Linked DNA regions of Homo sapiens: region 1 is linked to region 2. Evidence: promoter capture Hi-C in human tissues and cell types (Jung and others, 2019). All regions are on one chromosome and are shown on one strand. Each heading gives the region's core, a stretch centred on a gene start or on the middle of the fragment in contact. The rest is flanking DNA. Distances are from core to core; before and after follow the strand shown. Region 1 overlaps SMARCC1 (SWI/SNF related BAF chromatin remodeling complex subunit C1). Region 2 holds the start of DHX30 (DExH-box helicase 30).

Region 1 (6,724 bases), core at 1,646-4,145, 150 kb after region 2:
GTTTAGTGGGTTTTGAAACAAGACTGAAGTATCTAGCAACCTTGGTTTCTTTGGGGCTGGATTCTCCTGATTCATTAGTGAATTTATGGTTTGTGGAGCATGCAGAGGTTAGACTGCTACAGGAGGCACATGAGACTACAAGGGCTGACCTTTGAGTGGCATTAACAGTAAAATTCATTCACGGTATCTGGAAGTAGCCTCCCAGTTAACTTCTTTCAAGTGTGTTCTGTACTCACTAATTGCAGCAACAGAATTTGGGTCCTCTTATAATAAGGGTAAGGAAAACAGACCATAACATAAATATTTCAAATGAGTTGAGAATAGGTCCCTGTAACTTATGCTGGACTATTATAGATAATATGATTTATATTGGATTCTGACAAATGGAATAAATTGAAAAACAGCAAATGTTTCTCCCTTGGGAATTGGCTCAACAAAATTGTAGTAGGAAGTCAACAGTATGTCTCTTACGTTTCATGTCACAAATACTGCCTTATTGCATAGCACACTGATTTGAAACCGAGTGATATAGGATTTTACTTAGCAAGATAATAGTGTACTTGGGTGGTGGGTTCATGGTACTATTTATTGTGATAATTTACTGTGTTACAAATGTGTACACATAGGTATTAACTATGGTAAAATCATACTATAGGGAAAATAAGCTTCCTTAAGAAATATAGTACTTGTTTTGGGTTCCTGTCATTAACCTATCTAACATTTCATTGTGAATTTGGATAAGAAAAGAAATATATGATGTATATGGTGAAATGAAAGTAAAGCGGCCGGGCGCCGTGGCTCACGCCTGTAATCCCAGCACTTTGGGAGGCCGAGGCGGGTGGATCATGAGGTCAGGAGATCGAGACCATCCTGGCTAACAAGGTGAAACCCTGTCTCTACTAAAAATACAAAAAATTAGCCGGGCGCGGTGGCGGGCGCCTGTAGTCCCAGCTACTCGGGAGGCTGAGGCCAGGAGAATGGCGTGAACCCGGGAAGCGGAGCTTGCAGTGAGCCGAGATTGCGCCACTGCAGTCCGCAGTCCGGCCTGGGCGACAGAGCGAGACTCCGTCTCAAAAAAAAAAAAAAAAAAGAAAGTAAAGCTGGATGAACACTCAAAACACCTCTTACATTTATATTTTAAGTGATTTCCCATAGGAATTATTTAGGAAATGAGTGTTTTCTTATGAGAAGGGTCTTCTTCAGTCCATCTTTTTAACTATGGTCACTCACCAAGAACTATTAATTTCTGTACATTTATATATTTTTTGTTTTTCATTGACTGGACCATTCTAGGCATACAAAAAATACTTCTGAGTACCCATATTTAGTCCACATTGTATAGGGATTTTTGATTGGCCATTTGAGTTTCTTTTCAGGAGAATCCTTTGGAGGAAGTAACTTTTTTTTTTTTTTTTTGCAAAAGCAAGGAAACTGAGGCATGGAGAGGTTACATAAGTGTGTATCTGAACCAGAAATTTAACCTAAATCTCTCTAATCCCAAAGCTCTACTTCTCTTCATTGTAGCAGGCTGCCAGAAGTAAAATTTGTAGATGTGTCTGTGTGGTTTTCATTCATTGAACAAGCATCTTTAAAGGCTTAATAGCTCCAAAATACTATTCCGTCTTAGATACTATGGGAAATATAATGCTGAAGAGCCCAGGCCCTCTTGAGAACTTAACACCTGTCTCCTGAAATAGGCAAATGCATCAGGCAGAGCAGCTGTGGTTGACTTCCTCTATATGCCACTGAATGCCAACAAAACCCACAGAAGCCTGGGTGCTGTGGCTTATGCTCGTAATCCCAACATTTTGGCAGGCAGGAGAATTGCTTTAGGCCAGGATTTCGAGACCAGCCTGGTCAACATAGCAAGACCCCATCTCTACAAAAAGTAAAAATAAAAAAATTAGCTGAGCATGGTGGTGCAAACCTGTAGTCCTAGCTACTCAGGAAGACAAGGTGAGAGGATCACCTGAGCCCAAGCTACAGAGAGCTGTGATCCACACTACTGCATTCCAGCCTAGGTGACTAAGCGAGACCATGTCTCAAATAAAAACCAAAAACCTTACACCAAAATTCAGTCAGTGTCATTCAGTGCATGAGCCTGTGCCAGAGAAGCTTTCTTGGACATAATCACAAAAAATCAAACTCAGTGTATCATATTATCACATCATTTCTTTGTGTTCTGGATGCTAGGATACTGGTAAACAAAGTAAACCAAAATTTCTCCCCTTTATATTTTATATTTATAGAGTGTAAGATGGACAGCAATCTAATCAAATAAGTAAAACTTAACGTGTATAGATGTAATTATATATGAAGAGTATGTTGGCTGATGTGCTATGGTGAAAAGCAAAGCAGGGTTGCAAGGATATGAGTAAAGTGTGGGAATTACAATTTTAAATGATCAGGGAAAGTCTCATTGAGAAAGTGACTTTTGAGCAAAGATGTAAATAAGGTGAGCAAGACTGCTATGTAGGCATCCAGTGTAAGAGTGTTCCCAGTATTGGCAGAAGCCAGTGTAAAGCCCCCTGGGCAGGAGCTACCTGGCATACTTGAAGAACAGCAAGGAGGCTCATGTAAAGTTATAATAGCTCGATTGGTGGGGGAGGGGAGGTCATATGAGATGTTAAGGTAATTTGTGGGCTATTGTAAAATATTAATGTTTAAGTCTTTATGCAAAGTGGAGCAAGTGGAGCAGTTTGACCAAAAGAGTGTCAGAGTCTGACATATATATTTGAGACAGGGTTTCACTCTGTTGCCTAGACTGGAGTGCAGTGGCACAATCTTGGCTCACTGCAACCTCTGCATCCTGGGCTCAGGTGATTCTCCCACCTCAGCCTCCCCAATAGCTGGGACCACAGGGGTGCATCACCACACCTTGATTTTTGTGTGTTTTTTATAGAGGCAGGGTTTCGCCATGTTGCTTAGGCTGGTCTCAAACTCCTGGACTCCAGCAATCTGCCTGCCTTAGCGTCCCAAAGAGCTGGGATTGCAGACGTGAGCCACCACACCTGGCCTGAGTCTGACCTATATTTTTTCAAGTCTTACTGTAACTTTTCGATTGAGAATATACCCCCATGTAGAAGTTGTTAAATTGATTTATTATGCAGATAACATATTTGATTTTCAAAGAAAATTTTCTTCATTGCATCACTAAGGCTTTTATTAAAAAGCTCTATAAAGATTTTATTAAACTTTTCTTTATTTATTTTTATTTTTTTTTAAAGAGACAGGGTCTTGCTATGTCTCCCTGGCTGGATACAGTGGCATGATCATGATTCACTACAGCCTTGACCTCCTGGGCTCAAGTGATCCTCCCACTTCTGCCTCCGAGTATCTGGGACTACAGGTGTGCACCACCATCCCTGGCTAATTCTTTTAGTTATTGTAGAGACAGGGTCTCACTATGTTGCTTAGACTAGTCTCAAACTCCTGAGCTCAAGCCATCATCCCACCTTGGCCTCTCAAAGTGCTGGGATTACAGTCATGAGCCACTGCACTCAACCCAAGGCCACATTTTATGCTTGTGTTTTGCTAGGATTACAGGTAGATATTTTTTTACATGACTTGGAAACTAAACAAAATCGCCTATCTTGTAGTTTGTTTACTTACAGCAAACATTGATAGGATAGCACAGTGAAATCTTGTATACCTACTAGTTAGGTTCAACTTTTTGATATTTATTTAGCTATCTAAAGAAATGTTTTTATTTTTTTCTTGAATAATAATAATAATAATAATTATTATTATTATTATTATTATTTTAAACAGAGTCTCGCTCTGTCGCCCAGGCTAGAGTGCAGTTGCACGATCTCCGCTCACTGCAAGCTCCGCCTCTGGGGTTCTCGCCGTTCTCCTGCCTCAGCCTCCCAAGTAGCTGGGACTACAGGCGCCCACCACCATGCCTGGCTAATTTTTTGTATTTTTAGTAGAGACAGGGCTTCACCGTGTTAGCCAGGATGATCTCGATCTCCTGACCTCGTGATCCGCCTGCCTCGGCCTCCCAAAGTGCTGGGATTACAGGCGTGAGCCACCAAGCCCGGCCTGAATTATTTCAAAGTAGGTTGAAGACATTCGATGATTCTTTGTAGCCTAAATAGTCCACCATGTATTTCCTAAGGATAAGGACATTTTCCTACATCAGTTATTTAATACAATGAATTTTAGTCCCTTTTTGGGACACCAGCCCTTTCCCTCAAGAGAGTTGGAATGTACTTGTACATTCAAGGGCTAGTCAAGGGTTTCTCAAAAATCTTTTATTGTTACCCTCATTTATATTTCCTGATCTCAAGTATTAGTTTCATTTCTTTTGCTACTGAGTGGATTTACTGTCTGCATCTCAATTCTGGTTTGGACAGGTTTTGAGGGATTGAGTTAATTGAAGTGTTTTCCTTACAAGTTGATGACTTTTGGTAAAATTTAATCACAAATAGAATAATCAAGAGTTTTTAAAAATATATCAATGAGTAGATTGTCTACCGAGCTCCTTAACAGCCTGTGGAATACAGGTTTCCCATGAGTACATCTTGAGCCAGTTGTCACAGCTCTGTGTTAAAGAACCCAACTAATGGTTCCTAGTTTTTAAGAAGGTTAAGGACTAACTAGTCTCTAGACCATTATGAGATTAAGATAATCCTGAAATAAATAATACCGAAGAAGTAACTTTCTAAGAACATACAGCCCAGAAATGACTGTTAGAATTCTCGCCTCAGATGCTATTCATAGCTTATAAGTAGCCTTGCTCTTCTCACCATGAGGATTTCCATAACATTATTTTTAAAGTCAGGCACTTCTAAAACACCATGTGTGAAAACACCCTAGGCCAATGCATGTAAGAAAAATGTGGAACCATATTTGATCATCAGACTTACATCACGTGGAGTGGGCTTCTCTCTTTCTCTTTGTTATATTTAAAGGGCTCTTTCAAGTATAGTAAAAACATATTGAAATATAGACTCAAACTTCTGAATAGCTCATAATTGGACATTTAATTTCTAAGGACTGACTAGGGTTTACGTGACTTTCCTGATGTCTCATATTTATTAGGTAGTAGGATGTATATTTTCAGGAAGAAATTGGCTTTTGTTACAAAATATAACTGTCTGCCTTTGGGGGATTGTTTAATCAAATCAGGCATTTTGGATATTTGAGATATTCCCCTTGCTGTGGGCAAGTCATGTCATGCGACATACAGTTAATACTCTACTAATTGAAGCTATTTTTTGTGCTACACATACATGAAAAAAATAATTTTAGCATTTGGTGGGTTGGCAATAGAGTGAAGCATAGTATTATTTGTCCATGGAAGACTCTACACAGGAAGGGCTATAAGAATTATTACACAGGAGCCAGGTGTGGTCGCTCACAACTGTAATCCCACCACTTTGGGAAGCTGAGGTGGGAGAATCATTTGGGCTAAGGAGTCTGAGACTAGTCTGGGCAACATACTATAGTGAGACCTCGTCTCTACAAAAAAGAAAAAAAACCTAGCCAGATATGGTGACACACACTTGTTGTCCCAGCTACTTGGGAGGCAGAGATGGAAGGATCGCTTAAGCCCAGAAGTTCGAGGCTGCAGTGAGTTCTGATTGTGCCACTGTACTCCAGCCTGGGTGACAGAACAAGACTCTGTCTCTTAAAAAATAAAAAAATGAATTCTTACAAGGGGACATGTAATTTTTGATGGAGGAATGCTTCACAAAAAAAAGTAGTATTTGAGCTGAACATAGAAAAAGAGGTTTATAAGGCCGGGTGCGGTGGCTCATGCCTGTAATTCCAGCACTTTGGGAGGCTGAGGCATACAGATCACCTCAAGTCAGGGGTTCGAGACCAGCCTGCACAACATGGTGAAACCCTGTCTCTACTAAAAATACAAAAATTAGCTGGGTGTGGTGGCGCATCCCTGTAATCTCAGCTGTTTGGGAGGCTGAGGCATAAGAATCACTTGAACCCAGGAGGCAAAGACTGCATTGAGCCGAGGTCATGCCACTGCATTCCAGCCTGGGCAACAGAGTGAGACTCTGTCTCAAAAAAAAGTAAAAGAGGTTTAGAATGTCAGTGAGCAGATTCAAGAAAGTATTTGATTATGTAAAACAGTGTGATTGAAGTCACAGAAACAGAAGTGGAAAGTTATTCAGAGAATGGGAAATAAACTAGATTGGCCACAATACAAAGTTCAAATAAGGACATGGAAAGAATAGCCTACAAAGGTAGGTTGTAGCTAGATTATAGAGATTGTGATGCCAAAGGTTGTGAGCTTGGACTGTGTATTGCTGGCTTTATGGAACCTTGCAGTTAAATATAGGGAATGACGTGATTAGTCTCACATAAGTATTGACTGGGTTCCTGCCATGTGCTTCATTCTGTTCTTGACAAGACAGAAATCTCTGAGACTAAGTTCTCCCAAGTTTTTGGCCTCAGGACTCCTTTATACTCTTAAAAGATATCCAGGAGAACCCGAAATGCTTTAGTTTATGTGGATTATGTCTGTTGATGTTTGCTATACAGATGGTTCTTGGCTTTCAATGGGATTACATTCTGATAAACTCATTATAAGTTGAAAATATGTCAAAAATGCATTTAATACACCTAACCTACCAAACGTAACTTAGCCTAGTCTACCTTCAACATGCTCAGAACATCTACGTTAGCCTACAGTTGGTCAAAATCATGTAACACAAAGCTTGCTAACGTATTGAATATCTCATATAATTTATGGAATATT
Region 2 (6,834 bases), core at 3,546-6,045:
GTCTCAAAAAAATTTAAAAAAAAAAAGCAAAATTTAATGGCTAGGTGGGGTGGCTCATGCCTGTAGTCCCAGCACTTTGGGACGCCCAGGTGAAGGATCGCTTGAGGCCAGGAGTTCAAGACCAGCCTAGGCAACACAGTGAGACCCTGCCTCTAAAAAAAAAATTTGTAAGTTAATTTGCTTGCAAATAGACTCTTGATTTTGCTTTTTTTTTTTTTTTTTTTTTTTTGAGACAGAGTCTCGCTCTGTCACCAGGTTGGAGGGCAATGGCGTAATATCAGCTTACTGCAACCTCCACCTCCCGGGTTCAAGCTATTCTCCTGTCTCAGCCTTCCAAGTAGCTGGGACTACAGGCACACGCCACCATGCACGGCTAAATTTTTTTGGATTTTTAGTAGAGATGGGCTTTCATCATGTTGGCCAGGATGGTCTCGATCTCTTGGCCTCATGATCTGCCTGCCTCGGCCTCCCAAAGTGCTGGGATTACAGGCATGAGCCACCGTGCCCGGCCAGTTTTGCTTTTTAAAAGTCCCTAAACCTCTAGCCCAATATGTCAATTTAGGCTCATGTACCATTCTTTTTCCTGTACTAATCTAAAAAAACGATACTATGAGAATCAAGACAGGATCTTTTAGAGACAGAATTTACAGAGCTCTAGAACATTTCATAGAGATCCAAAAGAAAGCGGTCTTCCTTGTAATGCAGTCAGTAATGGTGTTTTGTTTTGAGACAGAGTGTTGCTCTTGTTGCCCAGGCTGGAGTGCAATGGCATGATCTCTGCTCACTACAACCTCCACCTCCCGGATTCAAATGATTCTCCTGTCTCAGTCTCCCTAGTAGCTGGGATTACAGGCACCCGCCACCACGCCTGGCTAATTTTTGTATTTTTGGTAGAGACAGTGTTTCACCATGTTGGCCAGGCTGGACTCGAACTCCTGACCTTGTGATCCGCCCGCCTCAGCCTCCCAAAGTGCTGGGATTACAGGCATCAGCCACCACGACCGGCCATAATGCAGTAATGTTTAAAAATCTTTGTAGTGGGCCAGGCTTGGTGGCTCACGCCTGTAATCCCATCACTTTGGGAGGCTGAGGCAGGCAGATTGCCTGAGGTCAGGAGTTCGAGCCCATTCTGGCCAAGATGGTGAAATCCTGTCTCTACTAAAAATACAAAAAAAATTGGCCAGGCACGCCTGAGCGCAGTGGCTCACTCCTGTAATCCCAGCACTTTGGGAGGCCGAAGCAGGTGGATCACAAAGTCAGGAGTTCGAGACCAGCACGGCCAACATGGTAAAACCCCATCTTCACTAAAAATACAAAAAATTAGCCAGGCGTGGTGGTGCACGCCTGTAGTCCCAGCTACTCAGGAGGCTGAGACAGAAGAATCGCTTGAACCCGGGAGGCGGAGGTTGCAGTGAGCCAAGATTGCACCACTGTACTCCAGCCTGGGTGACAGAGTGAGACTCCATCTCAGAAAAAAAAAAGAAAAAAATTGGCCAGGCACGGTGGCTCACACCTGTAATCCCAGCACTTTCGGAGGCAGAGGCAGGCAGATCACAAGGTCAGGAGTTTGAGGTTAGCCTGACCAAAATGGTGAAACCCCATCTCTACTAAAAATACAAAAATAAGCCAGGCGTGGTGGTGCGCACCTGTAATCCCAGCTACTCAGGAGGCTGAGGCAGGAGAATCGCTTGAACCCAGGAGGCAGAGGTTGCAGTGAGCCAAGATCCCACCACTGCACTCCAACCTGGGCAACAGAGTGAGACTCCCATCTAAAAAAAAAAAAAAAAATACAAAAAAATTAGCCGGGCTTGGTGGCATGAGGCTGAGGCAGGGGAATTGCTTGAACTAAGGAGGTGGAGGTTGCAGTGAGCCAAGATTGCACCACTGCACTCCAGCCTGGGCGACAGGGCAAGACTGTCTCAAAAACAAAAAACCTTGTAGCTCAATGTGTCTCTTAAGTAATTTACAGATAAGTAAAATGCTATTATATCAAGATTTCCTGCATAATGAAATACAATTTAACTCCAGGTAGAGTCACTTGGGGATGGTTCCAGGACAGAGACTCCACAATGACTAAAAATGATACCCTTCTGGCTGGGCACAGTGGCTCATGCCTGTAATCCCAGCACTTTGGGAGGCTGAGGCAGGCTGATCACCTGACGTCAGGGGTTTGAGACCAGCCTGGCCAACATGGTGAAACCCAGTCTCTACTAAAAATACAAAACAATCAGCTGGGCATGGTGGCAGGCGCCTGTAATCTCAGCTACTTGGGAGGCTGAGACAGGAGAATTGCTTGAACCTGGGAGGCAGAGGTTGCAGCAAGCCAAGATCGCGCCACTGCACTCCAGCCTGGGGGACAAAGCGAGACTCTGTCTCAAAAATAAAACAAAATAAAATAAATGATATCCTTCTTCCAAAATGGTCAGAAATAGGTTTAACACATACCTCTTGTTTTACAGTACAGCTGAGCATCAGATCCACCACTGCTCTGTGCACGGCTAAATCAACTTACCTTATAAAAGCAATGACAGTCTCAGATTTTGTAGGCTTTTGAACTGGAGCTGAATTCTCTCCTTGCTATTCCTCATCACGAGGCTGGGCCTCCTCCTGAGAAGTACAACGCTGAGTCAATACAGTGGAGGCCCCATAGGGAAAGAAAGTTGCTCCAACCATCATTTACTAGCTCTAACAAGGACAAATTTTGTTAGTGGCATGAAGGGCACATACTGGACAAAATGGCCTTACAAATCAGGACTTACCATGACCCATTCTAGGCCCATTAAATTGTAAGCTGTCCTACACCAGCACCTGTAGAAGTGCTGAAGTCTTCTGACATCATCTAAGAAGATGTCAAGGTAAAGAAAGCCTTGTAAGCCTGAAAAGCATTTTCTGGAAGCCCAGAGCAAAACCTACTTCCACTTTGAGTTCTAATCCCATAATAATTATGATAATCTAACATAAAGAAGCTATAATACTCTTCAAGATTGGGAAAATAACAATAACTCAAAGTTGAATACCATTTTTACAGTTCACAACATACTTCCATAGACTTTACCCCATTTAATCCAGGCAACTATCCAGTGAGGTAGGAATTATCTTTCCAGAGAAGAAAACTGAAGCACAGGTTACACAACCTGCCCAAGATCCCATAGCTGCCTCAGGGCAGATGGAAATCAGCATTGAAGCATGCTGACTCCAAAACCCTCCATGCTTATACTAGGCTAATTTTCTTATTTCCAGGATATTATGCTGTTGCCTAAATGTACTACGGTTCATTCCTTGAGACATATTATACTGTTATCTTCAAAGGCTGAAAGGGGCAAGAAAGGTCCAACAGCTAATAAAACTTGTGTGTGGTTTTTGTTTTGTTTTGTTTTGAGAAGGAGTTTCGCTCTTGTTGCCCAGGCTGGGGTGAAATGGCGCGATCTTGGCTCACTGCAACCTCGGCCTCCTGGGTTCAAGCAATTCTCTTGCCTCAGCCTCCCAAGTAGCTAGGGTTACAGGCGCACGCCACCATGCCCGGCTAATTTTTGTATTTTTAGTAGAAACGAGGTCTAGCCATGTTGGCCAGGCTGGTCTCAAACTTCTGACCTCAGGTGATCCACCCGCCTCGGCCTCCCAAAGTGCTGGGATTACAGGCGTGAGACACCGCTCCCGGCCCTAATAAAACTTTGTATCACAGCTACATAAATTAAAACACTTGAAGAGCAACTATCTTTTAGGGATAAAGAGCCAACACCGGTAGAAAACGCAGCAAAGGATGTAGTTTCTGCACATCGCCTTAAATCTCTAAGATTTAAGTGTAAATTACAAGATGTAGTTAAAACCCACAATGACAGTGGGGTTACCACCTTGCAAGAAACTTCAAGGGAAATCACCAGACAACGTCTCATTTCACTCTGGCCCATAAGCTGCAACTAAAACCAGGTTGAAAGCCTGTAAGTGGCCTTCTGCAGTCTACCTGCTAGTGTATGGCAAACCCTCATGGAGTGGGGTTGTAAAGTGAAACAGCCTCTGCCTTGAAAAATCATAATTCAAGTGACCAATGTTGCTACACAACGACTAGATATGCCATATCCCTGGCTTAGGGTTTCTGAGGACCCCTGGGACTCCAGTTCACTGCAAACAAAGGACCCAACATGCATTTGGTCTTCCCCTGCTAAATGGGACAAGTTACCACCAGCAAACAAAGAATACCTCACCCCTTGGCCTCCCCCAGTGACAAGGTCGGTGCAAAAGGGGGCAAACTAGGGGGGCCAGAAGGCACCGGGCCTCCCTCTGGACGAACGGTCCGGGCAGCACCGGGAAGGAGGAGAAGTAGACAAAGGTCTCGGGGCACTCAGGAGGCTTCCTCCAGGCCCTGCCTGGGGAAACGGCGCATCCCGAGGCGAAGGCGTCGTTGCGCCAATGAAGCGGCCTCTCCCACGGCCTCCGCGGAGCCCCTGGCTGCGAGGCCCGCCCCGGCGGACCGGTCTGGCCCCCGCCCCCGCCCGGGCTCCATGGCAACGGCAGGCCGAGGCCTGGCTGCCCACGGATCGGCCGGGCCGGCTTCCCGGGCAGGCCTAGGATGCCCGGCCTGCTCCTCGGGCCCGCCGGCGTCTCCGCCCCACTCTCCGCCAGGCTGGCGGTCGGACCGGGCCCCCTCCTCACGACGACCACCCCCGGCCGCGGCAGGCTCCTCAAGAGGGCACGAAAGGGGAGAATAAAAAGCCCAATTCACCTGTTGTTACAGATGTGAAACAAGCCTCTGTGCACCGCGCATGAGCCGCGGCTCCCCCAACCACGGCCGGACTACAACTCCCAGCAGCGGCGGCGCGGCCCCTTCCGAGTCCCGTGGCGGAAGTCCCGCCACCGGCCCGGCGTTCCCCACCCGGCGTCACGGAGCCCGCCTGCGGCGCACGGCTCCGCTCCCCCGCGGGCCTGGAGCCCGGCCCCACCTGGGACTCGTCGTAGCCGCTCGGGGCACCCAGCGCCCGGGATGCCCCAGCACCCGGCCCAATGGGGCGCGGCGGCGGTGCAGGCGGGACTTCCGGCGGAGTCGCGAAGGGGACGGGTTGGCGCCGGCTGCTCTGGGGTCGCAGAGCGAGCGGGTTTGGGTGGCGGGGTCGGGCGTCAAGTTGCTGCCTTTCTCGGCGACTTAGCTGCCTGCAGTGTGAAAGCGGGAAGGGTCTTCTCGCCCTCTGCGAGCCACCCGCGCCTCCTGATGCGAATAAACAGCCCGGGTCATGGCTGAGCGGGGAACGGTTTCCAGCTCGGGCTCCGGGATTCCACCCGCCTTCCCCGCCACAGCTCGTAGCCACGCCTCTTCTCTTCCCCATCTCCCCTCTAATCTGTTTTTTTAGGGAGGTGAGCATTTTTGTCTTGTCTCCCCAGTTTGCAGGGAAGATGAAATCAACGTGTTGGTTCGTTGATTTCGTAAACTGTACAACGTTAGGCAAAGGACAAGGTGGCACTTGCTGGTCGCGGGGAGAGTGCCAGTCATAGTTGCTGGAAATCTGGAGGTCCGCCCGGCCACATCACCTCTTAGGAATGAGAAAGGGGATTGTCCCAATTACACGCTGTAGTCCTCTAGATAAGGTTCAAGTATAGGTTCAGTGGAATTCAGCTTCAAAAGGAAACAACGCAGTGGCGTAGCTCTGAAGCTGGGTCAGGATTTTACAGAGTATGGTTTTAAGATGTGGCCTTTAGGCCGGGCGTGGTGGCTCACGCCTGTAATCCCAGCACTTTGGGAGGCCAAGGCGGGTGGATCACCTGCGGTCAGGAGTTCAAAACCAGCCTGGCCAACATGGTGAAACCCCGTCTCAACTAAAAATGCAAAAAAATTAGCTGGGCGTGGTGGCGGGCGCATATAATCCTAGCTACTTCGGGAGGCTGAGGCAGGAGAATCACTTGAACCCGGGAGGCGGATGTTGCAGTAAGCCGAGATCGTGTCATTGAACTCCAGCCTGGGCGACAAGAATGAAACTTAAAAAAAAAAAAAAAAAAAGATGTGACCTTTGAGGCTGTATGAAGAATTAGTGCCATATCCCGTCACTTTTGTGTGCAAACAGTTCAACATGTATCTCTTTTCTTTCTCTCTACATTGGCTAGAAGACCGGGGTGTGGGGGTGGAACATCATTTATTCATTCAAATAATTAGTGCATCTGAACAGGGCATGGTGCTGTGTTGTGTGGAGAATAGAGAGATCCCTGCACGGACATCTGAGTGCTCTGTGTATCAGTTGCTAAGCTGGTGTGGAGGCTACAAAGGCCCTGCCTCAAGGGACTTAGAGCCTAGTAGAGAAGATGACAACATTGTGTGAAGGAAATGGAAAGTGGTAAATGCTGGAAAGGAGGTATTAGGTACTCCAAGAGTTCAGAGAAAGGAGTGGTTACTCCTGAATGGCAAAATGAAAGGAACGTGAACAAAGACATACGAGTGGAACAAGGGACAAATCCTAGGAATATTCAGTAGTTCAGTGTGACCACAGGGTTGGATGTGTGTGCAAGCTTTACAGGAAATAGAACTGAAAAACTGTTGGGGAGTGCCATACTAAGGAATTTTTACTTTTTTTGGTAAGACATTTAAAAAATTATTAGGAGAGTAAAATACTGCACTTTTTTGTTGTTGTTGAGACAGAGTCTCTACTCAGTCACCCAGGCTGGAGTGCAGTGGGGTGGTTGCGGCTCACTGCAACCTCTACCTCCCACGTTCAAGCGATTCTCCTGCCTCAGCCTCCCAAGTAGCTGGAATTACAGGTGTGCACTACCATGCCCAGCTCATTTTTGTATTTTTACTAGGGATGGTTTCACCATGTTGGCCAGGCTGGCCTCGAACTCTTGGCCTCAAGTGGT

Evidence for each region. Contacts are between HindIII fragments. The study calls those that stand out against the background at their distance.
Region 1: a contact is called between a fragment that was not itself captured here and the fragment with the promoter of DHX30 in region 2, in 1 of the 25 tissues and cell types used here (IMR-90 fibroblasts).

Annotation. Positions count from the first base shown.
Region 1 is chr3:47,647,316-47,654,039 of GRCh38, reverse strand. All of the region lies in intron 21 of SMARCC1 (SWI/SNF related BAF chromatin remodeling complex subunit C1), which reads left to right. Among named protein-coding and RNA genes, the nearest start is that of SNORD146, 11 kb to the left of the region's middle. The HindIII fragment of the contact is 3,009 bases long and covers 1,391-4,399 here.
Region 2 is chr3:47,801,099-47,807,932 of GRCh38, reverse strand. It overlaps DHX30 (DExH-box helicase 30), which reads right to left and starts at 4,795. Exons shown (of 22, transcript NM_138615.3): 1 at 4,721-4,795; 2 at 2,513-2,607. RefSeq lists silencers at 3,001-3,197, 4,375-5,224 and an enhancer at 4,125-4,650. The HindIII fragment of the contact is 11,371 bases long and covers 1-6,701 here.